2 separate regions of the Homo sapiens genome follow, and region 1 is linked to region 2. The links are contacts of gene promoters, found by promoter capture Hi-C in human tissues and cell types (Jung and others, 2019). All regions are on one chromosome and are shown on one strand. Each heading gives the region's core, a stretch centred on a gene start or on the middle of the fragment in contact. The rest is flanking DNA. Distances are from core to core; before and after follow the strand shown. Region 1 holds the start of ATP1B2 (ATPase Na+/K+ transporting subunit beta 2). Region 2 holds the start of CHRNB1 (cholinergic receptor nicotinic beta 1 subunit).

Region 1 (2,700 bases), core at 177-2,676, 210 kb after region 2:
GCTTCAGCCTCCTGAGTAGCTGGGACTACAGGCACCCACCACCATGCCCAGCTAATTTTTTTTTTTTTTTTTATTGAGACGGAAGCTCTGTTGCCCAGGCTGGAGTGCAGTGGAGCGATCTCGGCTCACTGCAAGCTCCGCCTCCCGGGTTCATGCCATTCTCCTGCCTCAGCCTCCCAAGTAGCTGGGACTACAAGCTCCCGCCACGACGCCCAGCTAATTTTTTTTTTTTGTATTTTTAGTAGGGACGGGGTTTCACTGTGTTATCCAGGATGGTCTCGATCTCCTGACCTCGTGATCCACCCACCTCGGCCTCCCAAAGTGCTGGGATTACTGGCGTGAGCCACCGCGCCTGGCCTAATTTTGCATTTTTAAGTAGAGACGGGGTTTCACCATGTGGGCAAGGCTAGTCTCGAACTCCTGACTTCGTGATCTGCCCGCCTCGGCCTCCCAAAATGCTGGGATTACAGGCATAAGCCACCGTGCCCGGCTTGAGATAATGATTCTTAACATGTGGTATGTAGAGCAAGTGTACTCCCGCCCTAGACTGTGAGCCCCGTGAGAGATGTGGCTTCAGTGTAACCTCTCTGGCCTCCCCAGGGCTACAGCACACAGTCTATAGAGGTGCTCAATAAATGTTTGTTGACCCAAGTAGACACATAAGGAGGTGAGTTCCGACGTGGGGGTGGGGGTGCCAGGAGGCAGAGAACCGAAGTAGACCTGGCTGCAGGGCTGGGATCTCAGGGCAGTGCTGGGGACTGGGAATGTGGTGTTGAGAGGGCTTCAGGGAGACGTGATGGGAAGATGGGGAAGCCTCTGCACGTGGACAGAGCCAGGTGGTGTGGACAGGGGCTGTGAGATTGGAGAAGGAGGCGTCTGGGGGACTGGTAGCGGCTCCCAACAGGGGAACGTCCCTCTGGGGGTGGCCTTTATCCATCTCTGCGGGGCCTGTCCTAGCTTCCCTCCTGGCTCGGCCAGCCTCCCGGCTGGTCTCTTCGCTCTCTTTCTTGATCTCTAGCTCTTTATTCCTCTGACATTCTGCCCCATCTGCTCCCGGACTCTTCCGCCGCATCTGTATCTTAGTCTCTTTCTAACTCCCTGCCTGGGGCCCCCACCTTTGAGCATATATCGGCTTCTCTCTCTGCCGTTGTGTTTCTCTGGGGTTATCTTTCCCTCTACTCCGCCCGGACACGCCCTCTATCTCTTCCTCCCACCCTGTCCCAGTCTAGTACCTGGGGTGGGGGTAATGGAGAGACAGCTAGGTCCCTAAGAGAAGTCAGGGGGGCGGGCCCAACCTCTCCATATTTACATATGTATGAGGTCGCCTGGGCCAGTGGCGAGGAGGCGGAGCTTCTGGGGGTGGGAAGGGGGCGGGCACCCCCAGAGCCGCAGAGTATAAAGACCGCGCTCGGCGACCGCGGGCCTCGCACTGCTGAGGAGCGGAGCCTCCGCCTGGGGGGCCCCCCATCCCTGGCTGTCCCCCAGCTGCGCGTCCCCGCCCCACCCCCGCGGCTGAGCCACCACCGGTGCAGTGGTCTCCGCTTGGCGGAGCGAGCCTTGAGCTTCGTTCCACAGCTTCTTTGCATCTTGGATTTCGGGGCGGCCCCCTCCCCCACCTCTCTCTGCCTTTTTGTACCCCGCTTTTTTTCTGCGTTCTGCTCGGTTTTTGTAGCCGTCTGTTTTTGCACCCCATTTCGTTTTGTTTCTAGACGGTTTGGTGGGGGGTGAAGCTGCATTCATACCCCTTCCTCTTGTTATTCTCCCCTGCTCTGACAGCACCCCTTTTCATCGCAGTTGGGGGGCCTAGGATCGGTGCATCTTCCGCCGCGCTGCCAGCACCCCGCAGCGCGTGGTCGTGCACCCCGGAATCTGCAGCAGCTGCATATCTGAGGGGGGTCTCCTTTGCCCGCGCCGCCTTCGCTCCCCGTGCTTTTGGGTGTGTGGAGGGCTTCAGCGCGCGGCGCCCCCGCTTCTCCGCAACCCCCCGCCCCGCGCCCGGACTCGCCCCGCGCCACCAAGATGGTCATCCAGAAAGAGAAGAAGAGCTGCGGGCAGGTGGTTGAGGAGTGGAAGGAGTTCGTGTGGAACCCGAGGACGCACCAGTTTATGGGCCGCACCGGGACCAGCTGGGGTACGCAGGGCCGGCACGCAAGGGGCGGGGGAAAGCCGCGGGGCGACGCCTCGGGGGCGCAGGGTCCCGCCGACGCGGCCCCAGCTCCCCTCCCGGGTCCCCGGCGTCCAGCCTCCCTGCCGGGCTCTGGGCTGGGAGGGGGCCGAATCGCCAGTCTAATCTCCCCGGCTGGCCGTGCGGAGGCGGAGAAAGTAGGTCACAGCCGCCTTCCCGCCCCCCGCGGAGCCCCCTCGGGCGGGGGGTCGCCAGCTCCGCCTGCGTGTCCGCGCCGGCGCTCACACTCCCTCTCGGGGCCTGTCCGCTCCACACGGGCGTCCCCCACCTCCAAAGAGCGCCCCTTCCCTCCCTCCGGCTCTCACTAGCTCCGCAGCCCCGTCTATTTTTAGCTCGTGCCCACCCCCTGGACCCTGGGAACGTTCATGAGGGGGCGGGTCTTGGGGGGTGTGTTAGGGGGGTTCTTCACGGCGGAAGTTGTCTGTATCCCACCGCCTGGCCTTGGGAGCCTTCTGGGACTGCTTTGTGGGTTGGGGGGCTGCTGATAGTATGAGTTTTACCGAGGCTGCAGGTTT
Region 2 (2,700 bases), core at 44-2,543:
TTTGGGCCTTGTCTAGCTGTTGGCTTTGGCCTGAACCGGAACCAGTCTCAGATGACCACGGGTTTAACCTTCTTATCCCAGAGACACCCAATTCTAGAGCTTTATGGAGCCGTACTTCCCCCTGAATCCTAGCTCTAGGACATAGATCATGACTCTCAGCCCTTTTACCCAGGATGGAGCTGGGGCCTGTATAGCCATATTATTGTTCTAAGTAAGTTCTAGCCCCACCCTCCCGCCTTCTTGAGTGATACCTATTACGGATGAGTTCTGGAAAAGACCCAGCTATGATTCATAAAAACACTTCTGGATGAATCAAGAACCATTTCTTGTTTTTCCTAGATAATTCTCTAAAAATATGATTCTTCCATATAGAATGCTAAGCTTATTTTTACATGCAGTTTCTAGCTCCTTCAACCCAGCTGAGGTCGTGCCAGGGAGACAGAGTCTGGAGAAGGGCAGAGGAATTTTGGAAGGATCCCTGGCTCATAGTAGGGAAGCTGGGATGGGGGAGGGGTCAAAATTATGGCATGACTGAACCTGCATCTGTGTTGGGTGGACATGAATACTTAGCTACCTCAGCAGGAATTCCTTCCAGGTCCCCTTTAAAGCTGAGGTCCTTAGAGTAATATGTCCTTAATAAAAAGGACAAATGGATACAGCCTTGACCCTCCCAGTGAGGAGACCCCAATTCAGCAATAAGTCTCACCCTTCTCCCCTACAGGTCAGGCCAAGAAGGGTGAAGGCCTCTTGCACTCCAGACCTCATACGCCCCAACAGCTTCTAATTGGATAGAACTTGCTTTACCTTACAGCTCACAACCTCAGCTGGGTTTTAGGTACCCAAAAAGGGCCTGTCTAGATTTTTTCAGAAAAACGTGGAGTGCTAGGGGCAGCCTGGAAAAGATGGGGAACCTGCTAGTGAACTAGGAGGGAGACTTCCATAGCCTCAGACTTGGATAGGGTAGGCTGAGGGGGCCCTAAGGGAGGGACTAAGGCTCCAAGGCAGGTCACTTTTCCTTAGGCTGTTCTACTTCTGGCTTGTTGCAAGAGGAGTAGATGCCCCCTCACCCACACAAACCCCACTCAGTCTCCACCCAACTCCTGGCACTGCTCCCAGGGGATCGGGTCTCCACTCCAGCTTTCTCAATTAAAGACGATTTATACAACTGAAGTGCTGTCTGTCATCTGTCGGTGGCGGGCTTGGCAGTTGCTCGAGGCAGGATCAAGTCCCGGGGGCGGGGCGGGTGGGCTGGCGGCTGTCCTCCAGCAACAGGTGCACATTCCCGGGCTCCTCGTCACTTCCCCTGTGCTGGCGGTCCCAGCGGCTCTCTGAGCGAAGTCACTGAGCGAGCCGCCAGGCTATGACCCCAGGGGCTCTGCTGATGCTGCTGGGGGCGCTGGGGGCGCCGCTCGCCCCAGGTAAGTGTAGGCCCCGAAGGGGCAGTGACGGGGCCAGCGGTCGTGGCCAGGCACCAGGGCTGCACTTATTCTCTCCTCCCCCAGGCGTCCGCGGCTCGGAGGCGGAGGGTCGACTCCGGGAGAAACTTTTCTCTGGCTATGATAGCTCCGTGCGGCCAGCGCGGGAGGTGGGAGACCGTGTCAGGGTCAGCGTTGGTCTCATCCTGGCGCAACTCATCAGCCTGGTGAGGGCGCGCGGGGGGTGGAGGTCAGGCCAGCCGACCGGCCGGGGGCGTGGCTTTAGGCAAGGCCGGACCAGGGACAGGCTGGGGGCGGGGCCTGGGACGAGACCAGGCTGAGATGGACCAGCCTTTGGTGAAGATTGGATCGAAATCAGACCAATGGACAAGCTCTGGCCGTGGGTGGTGGACGGGCCTGGAGTAGAACTGGGTAGGGTGAAGGACGGACCTGTGATCGGACCTTAAAGTGGGGCTGGGGACGAGGCAGGGGCTGGGGGACGGACCTCGACGTAGGGCCACATGAGTCCTGAGTGCCCAGGGTGGGGCGGAGCTTGGTGCTCAGGGGTCAATAAATGGCAGCGGGTGGAGGTTCGGGGCTGGGTGGATTATGAGCTGAAGGCAGGGCCGGGGACAGAGCTAGGCGGAGGGCTAGGCAGGGGCGGGTCTGGTAGGTTGATAGGCTGGGAGTGTAGACGGCAGGAAGAGGTGTTTCTGAGATAGAGGCAGGTCTTAAACTAACGCCGCTTCTGGGAGGTGGACTTGGACCCGAGAGGATGGGGCTCAGAAAAAGGGGGCGGCGTTCCCAGGAGAGAGGTTGGCCCCCCGAGCCCCCTCATTTCTCTCCACCCTACTTCACCTTTACGCCTTAAATTTTTCCCTTCTAGAACGAGAAGGATGAAGAGATGAGCACAAAGGTGTACTTAGACCTGGTATGGAGACCCCACGGGGTGGGAAAGGGCTTCCCTCTGCCTTGACAATTTCCTTGAATATCCAGCCCAGTAAGAATATTTTTTACATCATGACTTTAGATAACACGTTTATAACTGAAGCAAAAGCTCGAAGAAACAACACTTAACTTTACTACAGGAGTTACACCCCATGCATTTTTAATTCCAATTTTGTGTGTGTGTGTGTGTGTGTGTCTGTGTGTGTGTGTGTGTGTGTGTGTGTGTGTGTGTGTGTGTGTGTGATGCGGTCTCACTATGTTGCACAGGCTGTTCTTGAATGCGGGGGCTCGAGCCATCCACCAGCCTCGGGGGGAACCTCCACAAGTGCTGAGATTA

What was found. Contacts are between HindIII fragments. The study calls those that stand out against the background at their distance.
Region 1: a contact is called between the fragment with the promoter of ATP1B2 here and the fragment with the promoter of CHRNB1 in region 2, in 1 of the 25 tissues and cell types used here (bladder).

What each region holds. Positions count from the first base shown.
Region 1 is chr17:7,649,500-7,652,199 of GRCh38, forward strand. ATP1B2 (ATPase Na+/K+ transporting subunit beta 2) reads left to right here and starts at 1,427. Exons shown (of 7, transcript NM_001678.5): 1 at 1,427-2,131. The coding sequence starts at 2,020. RefSeq lists enhancers at 79-579, 580-1,080, 1,355-1,997 and a silencer at 1,337-1,486. The HindIII fragment of the contact is 20,754 bases long and covers 1-2,700 here.
Region 2 is chr17:7,443,768-7,446,467 of GRCh38, forward strand. It overlaps CHRNB1 (cholinergic receptor nicotinic beta 1 subunit), which reads left to right and starts at 1,294. Exons shown (of 11, transcript NM_000747.3): 1 at 1,294-1,418; 2 at 1,503-1,642; 3 at 2,302-2,346. The coding sequence starts at 1,361. It overlaps FGF11 (fibroblast growth factor 11), which reads left to right. Exons shown (of 5, transcript NM_004112.4): 5 at 1-1,170. RefSeq lists a silencer at 1,366-1,415. The HindIII fragment of the contact is 9,790 bases long and covers 1-2,700 here.